Linked DNA regions of Homo sapiens: region 2 is linked to region 1. Evidence: promoter capture Hi-C in 16 types of primary human blood cells and fetal thymus (Javierre and others, 2016). All regions are on one chromosome and are shown on one strand. Each heading gives the region's core, a stretch centred on a gene start or on the middle of the fragment in contact. The rest is flanking DNA. Distances are from core to core; before and after follow the strand shown. Region 1 holds the start of STX8 (syntaxin 8). Region 2 has its middle 48 kb from the start of DHRS7C.

Region 1 (5,028 bases), core at 1,523-4,022:
AGCGAGACTCCACCGTCTCAAAATAAATAAATAAAATAAACTATACACTGCCACAAGGTTTTTCTTTTTCTCTGGCAGCTAAACAAGCACTTATCTTGAGATAAGCAATATGAAAACAACTGCAACCTGTCCAGTTCATAGGCACTTACTAACTGAAGCCCTGTTCAACCCGCCATAAGAACAATTTTGATTGGACAACAGAGTGATTTCAGTAATGTTCTCCTGGCAAGAAGACCACTCACCACGGACTACCTCTGGCCAGTTTACTGAGGCTTCCCACTTAACGTGCCGTCATGTCCTGAAAAGGCCTTTTGACATATAGGACCTAATTGTAATACATTTAAATGTTAGGTCTCCATCCCAAGGTGAATATGAGTGATATATTACATCAATGTTTGTTCAATACACATGTGTTGGGACCACCTTCATGAGTATTCATAGCTCCTCCTATAACCTGTTGAATATGTATGTTTGTTTGTTTATTTATTTATTTATTTTTTGAGACGGAGTCTCGCTCTGTCCCCCAGGCTGGAGTGCAGTGGCGTGACCTTGGCTCACTGCAACCTCTGCCTCCCAAGTTCAAGTGATTCTCCTCCCTCAGCCTCTCAAGTAGCTGGGATTACAGGCACCTACCACCACGCCCGGATAATTTTTGTATTTTTAGTATAGATGGGATTTCACCATGTTGGACAGGATGGTCTCGAACTCCTGACCTCAGGTGATCTACCTGCCTTGGCCTCCCAAAGCGCTGGGATTACAGGCATGAGCCACTGCCCCCGGCCTCAGTTGCAGAGTTCTATGTGTGTGGTTCTACATTGGCTCAACAAGTGACATTATGCAACCCACTGTAGGCTGCTCAATTGTTTCTCAATGATCTTGTAACCAACTCTCAAGATATCTGATATCCGAAATGTATAAAGCACTCACTTTCTATTGGAGACTGTTAAAGTTAAACCAAGAGTCAAGAGCTAAGTCCTAGAGTATGCTTAAAACTTTAGACAGTGATTGTTCTGCATCCACATTCTTAAAGCTTTCAGGCATCACAACACACATTTTTGAAAAGTTTTGCTTCTCCTAAAATCTAATTCATTGTTTTCTCATCCCTCAAAAAACCAAAACCCCTCAAAACGAACAATAAAACCCCACAGCTTTTTCTTCCCAGAATCTTCAAAACAATAGGCAGTCACAAATAAGATTTCAGCGGAGCGGCCCAGTCCCTTTTTCTCTCCGCTTTAGCTCCCCCTGGCGTCCCCTTCCCCTTCTGTCCTGGTCTGAAATCCTCATCATTTAGAAACCTTCCTTAGGATTAGAGGACCAACAACATCCCCTCAGGGGGTTGCTCAAACACACGTTCCCTCCCAGCCCTTTCTCACTGGTACGCCAGTTGGGATTTTAGCAGATTTCCTAGCTGGTCCCAGGGGCCGACACAGACAGCATCCTTCTGTGTGGTTACGAAGGAGCCTAGGGCTTTGCGAGCGGCGTGGGGTTCAGAGCCAGGAAGGGCTGACCTAGTGGGAGAAGGGTTACAACCACCCGTACTCATCCGGCCCGCCTGGGGAAGAGGCATTTGGTCCCTTTTAGGTGCTGGCGCTTGTCCGAGCTGGTAAAAACCATCTCACTCCCTGAGGCTTGGATCGAGGAAGTGACTCTCCAAGGCCTTGGGGCAGGTCAGGCTGTGCGGGTCCTCCTGTGCGTGTCCCTGGCCAGGGCTCCTGCCGTTGTCCCACACTGCCTTTCAGGTGTCCCCGGTGTCTCACTATTCCTGTTTGCACTACACGTCCTCCGAATTCCTAAACCAGCCAGCCCAAAGATGCTGGAGGCCTCACCATTGAAGCCGATCACGGCGTCAAGTTCCAGCTCCGCCACTTGGGCCTCCGGCGAAATTTTGTTATCCATCCTTGGGAGGTTCTGATTACTTTGCTCTCCTCCCTAGTGGCTGCAGCGTCTTCTGGTCGTTATGGTAACGGACGAGCGCATGCGCTCCAGCTCCACGCCCGCGCAGAAACCCAGCCTGCCGAGTTCGAGTTCATTAGCATTCTTGGAAATGAAGGGGTATGGGGACTGGAAGAGAGATGGGGTGGGACTCCTCTTCTTTTTTTTTGTGCTATTTCTCTGGAAATTTAGGGGATGGCACTAACTGCGCAGAACTAATTCCTCCATCCCCTTGTGTAGAGTCTGTGACTTCTTAGTAACTCTAAAATCAAGCACCGAATGAATGGCATTTAAAAAATATGTAATCAGGCGTACAGGACTGATAGGAAGGCTGCTATAAAAAATATATATAATTGATACTTCTTTGGGCCCCTGTTTGGAGCAGTGTGAAAAAAATTTTAAAGATTTTTTAAAAAGCGTTGAGGTATAATTTACATATCATAAAGTTAACTTAAAGTAGGTTGTAGTGAGTTTACGCAGCGTGCAAGTCTCACCGCAATCTAGTGTTTTGTTTATTGTTTTGTTTTTGAAGCAGGATAAATTTTTAAGTAACTGCTACAGAGAGGTCTTGCAGCGCTCCCACCTTCCTGGGAAAATGCTTTGTTTCTATTTAACAATTTTAACTGAGCTTAGCAGTTCGCGTCTCTTGGTGGGAGTAGATTGCTCCAGTGTACTGTCCGCAGGGGAGCGCTTTGCTTTCTCTGATTATAGTTCTGAGGCCCTAGCTACTCACTTTGCAAACTCCAGGCTCCGGTCGCGCACGGGACGAACTGCGGGGAGTGAGCCGCGCGGGCCGCCGTAGTCAGCTGCTAAGAGCAGGAAGAGTCCGAGCGGCGGGCGGAGTCTGCAGGATGGCACCGGACCCCTGGTGAGTCCCGGGTGAGGGCGGCGGTGCGTGGAGGGACCTTCGGGGAGGCCGGGCTTCCGGAGAGCAGGCAATCACTTCGCATTGCCGCTGGTGGCCTTTCGGGATGAGGGGAGGGGCAGCGAGACCTTTCCTTTACTGAGGGGGCTCAGCCACATCCCGCCACACTTGGTCCTTGCAAGGGTGGCCCGGGAAGGAGACCAGGTGGTCCGCTGGAGAGCTGAGGACTTACGCCAAATCTCTGAATATTCCTTTAGCTTTTCTGGGCTGCATCTCGTTGCGGGGATTTCCCGCCCATCCTGGTTTTGGAGCTAGCTGGCTGGTGCAGGCTTCCCTGGACTCCTATAAAAGTGAAGTCGAAATAACGTTTTTGTAGCATGTCAGTCCATCCCGGTAAACCCCCTTATTTCACAGGTGGAGAAACCGAGGTTCAGAATCCATGGCCACCAGCCAGTTAGTAACCAGCTGGGGCTAAGACCTAGATCTTGGGGGCCCTTCCAGATACAGGAACCTGGGAGGGAAATTGTGCACTTGTTTATAAGGCATTTTGCACTTTCTTGAGTTAATATCATGAAGTCTTTTCCTTTAGCAGTAGCTTCTGCAGTAAAACAATAGCTGATAAGGGTGATTTATTTAGCAGTTAATCCCAAGGACTGCATGATGAAAGATGCAACTTTTGATCCCAAGGAACATATTGTTTGATCCCAAGGAACGTATTGTTATTGAACATAGACTTGACCTTTCTGCTTAATAATTAAAAACATATTACAGCTCTATAACGTTCTTGTTGGAATATGTGTCTTATGTTGTTATTTCTAATATAGTTTATAATTGTTTAAGTTGCCCACATCCTGGATATTAGAAGAATGGATTCCAAGAACAAAGTTGAGTTACCTGGAATCTAGGTTATTTGGGCCAATTATTTAATTTAGCATTTACTTTTTTAAACCTAATTTTAGGCCGGACGCGGTGGTGGCTCACGCCTGTAATCCCAGTACTTTGGGAGGCCGAGGCAGGCAGATCACCTGAGGTCGGGAGGTCGAGACCAGCCTGACCAACATGGAGAAACCCCGTCTCTACTAAAAATACAAAATTAGCCGGGCATGGTAGTACATGCCTGTAATCCCAGCTACTCGGGAGACTGAGGCAGGAGAATCGCTTGAACCCGGGAGGTGTAGGTTGTGGTGAGCTGAGATCGTGCCATTGCACTCCAGCCTGGGCAACACGAGCGAAACTCCGTCTCAAAAAAAAATAAAAAACCCCAAAATCCCTAATTTTAACAGTTATATACACCCCTTGATAGAGAATATTCAATTTAGAGAATATTGAAAATTTGCAAAAAGGAAAATAAATAGCATCTTTAACTCTATAATTTGGAAATAGCCATTAATGATTTTTTTACAATGAATTTGTTATTTTAATCTATATTTTTATATATATATATAATATAAACAGCATTTCTCTATGTCATTGGACATTCTTTGAAAGCATAACTTTCTTTTCTTCTTTTTTTTTTTTTTGAGACGGAGTCTTGCTCTGTCTGTCACCCAGGCTGGAGTGCAATGGCGCGATCATGGCTCACTGCAACCTCCACCTCCTGGGCTTAAGCAACTCTCCTGCCTCAGCCTCTGGAGTAGCTGGGACTACAGGCGCACGCAGCCACGCCCAGCTAATTTTTTGTATTTTAGTAGAGACAGGGTTTTACCGTGTTGCCTAGGCTGATCTTGAACTCCTGAGCTCAGGCAATCTGCCCGCCTTGGCCTCCCAAAGTGCTGGGATTACAGGTGTGAGCCACCGCACCTGGCCTCATAATTGTCTTATGTTGCAAAATAATGCATCACATGAATGACCATAATTTATTTTTCTCCTATTAGTTTTTTGTTTTTCTGATGTTTTGTTTTGTTTTATCATTGCAAAGGGAGTCCCTTTGTTCTATCTCTTATTTCCTTGGGCTCCCTGTCTAGAAGTAGGAATTAGAACTGTTGAAAGTGAAGCATTTATACTTTTTTTGTTATTCTCAATCAGTTTGACTAAGTGGCTTTCTCATTAGACTGTTGAAAGTGAAATAGAACTGTTGGGCTCAAGGGTATAAACATTTTTAAGGCCCTTGATACTGTGAACCCCAAAGTATCTGAGACAGGTCTCAGTCAATTTAGAAAGTTTATTTTGCCAAGGTTAAGAATGCACCCATGACACAGCCTCAGGAGGTTCTGAAGACCTGTGCCCAAGGT
Region 2 (5,028 bases), core at 1,526-4,025, 170 kb before region 1:
GTAAACATTTCATATAGAATATAGGGCGTTTTCTCTTCTTTTGCAAGGATATTCACTTGTTTAGGAAACCAAGAGGCCATTTCAGACTCAAAATTTATCTGGTCTATGAGGAAAATACTAAGAGGTGGTCCCGTCTGTTTTTGTGTTTACAAAACAACATCATTACTTTGCATACCAACATGTAAGATATTCTTTCCCCCATCTCTGTGTCTATGTTCATTTTCTTTGTTGCCCACTACTTCTGAGTCAACTTTCAGCCAATATGGCAGGCTGAATTCAATTAAAGGACTTCTTCCTCTGATTCCAGAAATAAAATAAAACAACAAAATTTTTAAGATATAGGAAAGCTCAAAATTAAGAAAGGGATCTCTTCAGGTGTCAGTAAAAAAGGAGAATTTCAGTCAGACCAGTGAACAGATGCCAAACAGCACAAAGGACTATTGGAACTGATCACTGGTTGGGCGTTTGGTCCCTGCAGAGCTAAAGGAGTATTATCTCTGGAAGACTGGAGGACGGGGCACAGAAGTTGAGCTACCTACAGAAAGATGAGACCCCGTAAGAGATGCCCATTCATCTACAAAGTAAGAATGAGAAAAATTTACTTGTGCCAGGTATCAATGTATTGCCTTCTAATTTATGCTTCACTGTCGGCTCTATGAAAATTGATCTGGGCCCTGGCCGGGCGTGGTGGCTCACGCCTGTAATCCCAGCACTTTGGGAGGCCGAGGTGGGCGGATCACAGGGTCAGGAGTTCAAGACCAGCCTGGCCAACATAGTGAAACCCCATCTCTACAAAAAAAAAATACAAAAAATAAACCAGGCGTGGTGGCGGGTGCCTGTAATCACAGCTACTTAGGAGGCTGAGGCAGGAGAATCGCTTGAACTCGGGAGGTGGTGGTTGCAGTGAGCCAAGATTATGCCATTGCACTCCAGCCCAGGCAATAGTGTGAGACTCTGTCAAAAAAAAAAAAAAAAAAAAAAAAAAAAAAAAAAAAAGAAAGAAAAGAAAATTGATCTGAGCCCTTTAGATATTTTTCCATTTCCAGATAGTATGATGTCAAGTTTTGTCAGTAGAGGGCGCCAGAGAGGGATTTCAGCCTGGGTGCTGGAGTGCTTCTCTCAGCAAGCCCCTGCCGCACAGGCAGGGCTTCCCCAGTGCCCAGCTCCTGCAGCAGAGGCAGCATGTCCAACAGCAGGCTCCCTTAATGCAGGTGGCTTTTCCAATATCCAGCTTGTGCGGTGCATGGCAGCCAGCAGCTTCCCCAGCAACCCCCTTGGAGTACTGTATTGGAGTGCCTCCTGGGAGAAACCTCCTTTGAATAGCTTCCCCTACAACATCCTGGAAGGCAGATTTCCCGCCTTCCAGGGTGCAGTACCACTCAACTTGTCTCCAACCAGTGGCCATAGATTGGCACCCCAGTCGTGGGGATGTAGGGTCTCATTCCTGAATACTCTATCTGAGCCCCTAGAGGTATATCTGCTATTCCCACATTCTTTTTTTTTTTTAAGAGATGGAGTTTCACTCTTTTCGCCCAGGCTGGAGTGCAATGGTGAGATCTCGGCTCACTGCAACCTCCACCTCCAGGGTTCAAGCGATTCTCCTGCCTCAGCCTCCTGAGTAGCTGGGATTACAAGTGCGTGCCTCTACTACGGGGTTTTACCATGTTGGCCAGGCTGATCTTGAACGCCTGACCTCAAATGATCCACCCACCTCAGCCTCCCAAAGTGCTGGGATTACAAGTGTGTGCCACTGCGTCCGACCCTCCCACATTGTTTAGAATTCTCTTTACTTATTATGAGCCAATTCCTCAATAATCTGTTATAGTGTTGTTATGCTGTAACATGTTGTAATTAATAAGGTATATTTATATTAAGCTTGTTCAAATTACTGTGTGGTTTCTGTCTCCTAATTGGACTCTGACTGCTACTTATAGCACCAACATCAGGGACTGAGTAAAGGAGTGGAAAGAAAACAGTCTCACCTTCCTCTGTGCCAGTCTGGTTCCCAGCAGAAAATCCAACATCCACACAAAGAGGAGAAAGTCAAAGAGTGTTCTTCTTCCCTTCCTCTTTGAGATCCAGGGTCCTGGCAAGGAAAACACATCATAGCTGAATTGAAGAGCTCTCTGGGTTTTAAGATAAAATTAAGTCCTTCCCAAGTTCTCCTCATCATAGAAGAATTTCCTCTGCAGGTGCCTTATGTCCCAACCGAAACACTCACTTTTGTTCTACATTCTTCCTGAGTCTTCCCTTAAGATTTACAATGCTCTCTTTGATTAGAAGGTTATAGACATAATAAAAATGAACATTTATTGAACACTTTTATATGTTTGGCACTATTGTGAATATTCCCAATGAGTGTAATCCTCATCACAGTTCAGCGAGGTAGGTTGCCTCATCAAGCTCATTTTATAGATGAGCAATTTTCCAAATCCTGCATTTAGTAAACAGTGGATCTGGTCATCAAATCCAGAAAGTGTGACTCCAGAGCCTTAACCACTTCCCAGTACAATCAAACAATTGTCCGAGCTAGAAGATCCTCTTTCTACATATGCCATGTAATGAAAATAAGACACAGGGGGATGAGGTGACTTGCTCAAAGTCACTGCAATGAGCACGTGTCTGGGACAAAAACTCACCTCCCAGTCCTTGGTTGATCTCTCTCGAGTAGCCGCCCAGTCCCCTCAGTGCTGTTCTAAGCCCTGTAACCTTTGTTTAACCTCTCACATGAGGTTATCATAAGCCATTTACCTAATAGAAGCCCTACTCCGAGATTCTTTTATCTTTAGAAGAATCCTGAAGGAATGCTTCTTGTGTTTCACAGGGCTTTCGTCAGGAGGCGGCTTGCCCTGTTTCAGGTGTGGATGCGGATGTCTGGTTTTCCCCCAGGCTGGTGAAGAGCCTTGTGTTGACGGTGTCTTGCCCAGCGTCCTCAGTCCCTGAAAGGAAAATGAAGATACCAGGTCACCTACAAGAGATTGTCAGCCGGGCGTGGTGGCTCACGCCTGTAATCCTAGCACTTTGGGAGGCCAAGGTGGGCGGATCACAAGGTCAGGAGTTTGAGACCAGCCTGGCCAATATGGTGAAACCCCATCTCTACTAAAAATACAAAAACTAGCCGGGCGTGGTGGCACGTGCCTGTAATCTCAGCTACTCTGGAGGCTGAGGCAGGAGAATCACTTGAACCTGGGAGGTGGAGTTTGCAGTGAGCCGAGATTGCGCCATTCCACTCCAGCCTGGGCAACAGAGTGAGACTCCATCTCAAAAAAAAAAAAAGGTTGTCGTGGAGAATATGTTGTCTAAGGGACAGCACATGAGAGAATGGGAATGTCAAACCCAAGGAGACACATGCCATTCTGAAAACGTTATCATTGATACTCAGCTCAAGTGCTTCATTCATGGCAAACATCGGAGAAAATTACAAGGCTAATAACACACTCCAGTAGTCGGCATCTGCAAAAGGGCAGGCCACATCCTGAGGACGCTCCCTCTACATTCGCCCACTAGCCACTCTCTTTCTCCAATAAAAGATATCTTTAAATATGTAAATTCCTTCACACCAGAACATAATTTAATGTAACAAGACAAAGTTTTTCTCCTAGAAGATATATAAAGAATGATGTTCAGGACACTGTTTCTTTTTAGGACATTTTTGTTTTCAATGGCAAAAGCTTAGAAACAATCTATGGCCAGGCACGGTGACTCACGCCTGTAATCCCAGCATTTTGGAAGGCCAAAGTGAGAGGATCCCTTGAGACCTGGGGTTCAAGACCAGCCTGGGCAACAAAGTGAGACCCCCCCATCCCTACAAAAAAATTTTTTTTTAAATTAGCCAGGTATGGTGGTGCATGCCTATAGTCTCAGCTACTCAGGAGGCTGAAGTGGGAGGATTGCTTGAGCCTGGGACGTCAAGGTTGCGATGAGCCGAGATCATGCCACCACACTCCAGCCTGGGCAACAGAGTTCAACCCTGTGTCCGAAAAAAAAAAAATCTACATGCTCCTGAATTGGGGGACAAACTATGGTTCATTTGCATTAAGAAGTTATAAGCAACATTTGAAAAGAATCTATAGGGCCAATCTATAGAGATCTGGGAAAAGCTCCAAAATTTTAAGTTGGAAAAGAAAGCAAGTAGCAAAACAATAACTTTAGTATGGTGGTACGTAACTAAAAACCAATTAGGCCAGGCACGGTGGCTCACACCTGTAATCCCAGCACTTTGGGAAGCCAAGGAGTTCAAGGAGGTCAGGAGTTCGAGACCATCCTGGCTAACACGGTGAAACCCCATCTCTACTAAAAATACAAAACATTAGCCAGGCATGGTGGCGGGCACCTGTAGTCCCATCTACTCAGGAGGCTGAGGCAGGAGAATGGCATGAACCTGGGAGGTGGAGCTTGCCATGAGCTGAGATTGCACCACTGCACTCTAGCCTGGGCAACAGAGTGAGACTCCATCTCAAAAAAAAAATAGTAATAATTACAAAAGAAGATAGAAATGTCTGTGACAGCATGGTGGGTGAGGTATTCATTGAATTGGCCCTTCCAGCCCGGAAATAACTTCACAGGCTTTCCCCCATCTAGAAGCCAGATTGAACACACAGACTGCTCTCTGAAAGATAATTGAAAGCAAAGAACCACACACTAAAATTGCCAAACTCAAAGATAACCACATCAGTGGAAATAAGGAGAGCAAGGGGCTTGGGAACTTGTCTCTACTGCCAGATTTGTACTTTGCCTGTCTTGTCTAGATAGCCCCCTTTTGTGGCTTGATTTTGCTGAAACAGTTTAAAAATTTACATTCAATTTATTATTACATTATTCTCTATTTTTGTATCACTTCTGTTTCAATCATATTCATTTAACACAATATTTTAAACTTTGTTCTTTGTTCATATATATGTATGTGTATATACATATGCAAAGTCTCACTCTGTTACCCAGGCTGAAGTGCAGTGTCGTGATCTCAGCTCACTGCAACCTCCACATCCCAGGTTCAAGCGATCCTCCCACCTCAGCCTCGTGAGTAGC

Evidence for each region. The method cuts DNA at HindIII sites, captures the fragments that hold promoters and counts their contacts. A CHiCAGO score of 5 or more calls a contact.
Region 2: a fragment that was not itself captured here is called in contact with the fragment with the promoter of STX8 in region 1 in 1 of 17 cell types (megakaryocytes); the score reaches 5.1 in megakaryocytes.

The regions. Positions count from the first base shown.
Region 1 is chr17:9,573,564-9,578,591 of GRCh38, reverse strand. STX8 (syntaxin 8) reads left to right here and starts at 2,772. Exons shown (of 8, transcript NM_004853.3): 1 at 2,772-2,800. The coding sequence starts at 2,784. CFAP52 (cilia and flagella associated protein 52) reads right to left here and starts at 1,950. Exons shown (of 14, transcript NM_145054.5): 1 at 1,827-1,950. The coding sequence starts at 1,896. RefSeq lists enhancers at 1,688-1,817, 2,610-2,789. The HindIII fragment of the contact is 4,659 bases long and covers 1,033-5,028 here.
Region 2 is chr17:9,741,143-9,746,170 of GRCh38, reverse strand. No RefSeq gene overlaps it. Among named protein-coding and RNA genes, the nearest start is that of DHRS7C, 48 kb to the left of the region's middle. The HindIII fragment of the contact is 1,796 bases long and covers 1,878-3,673 here.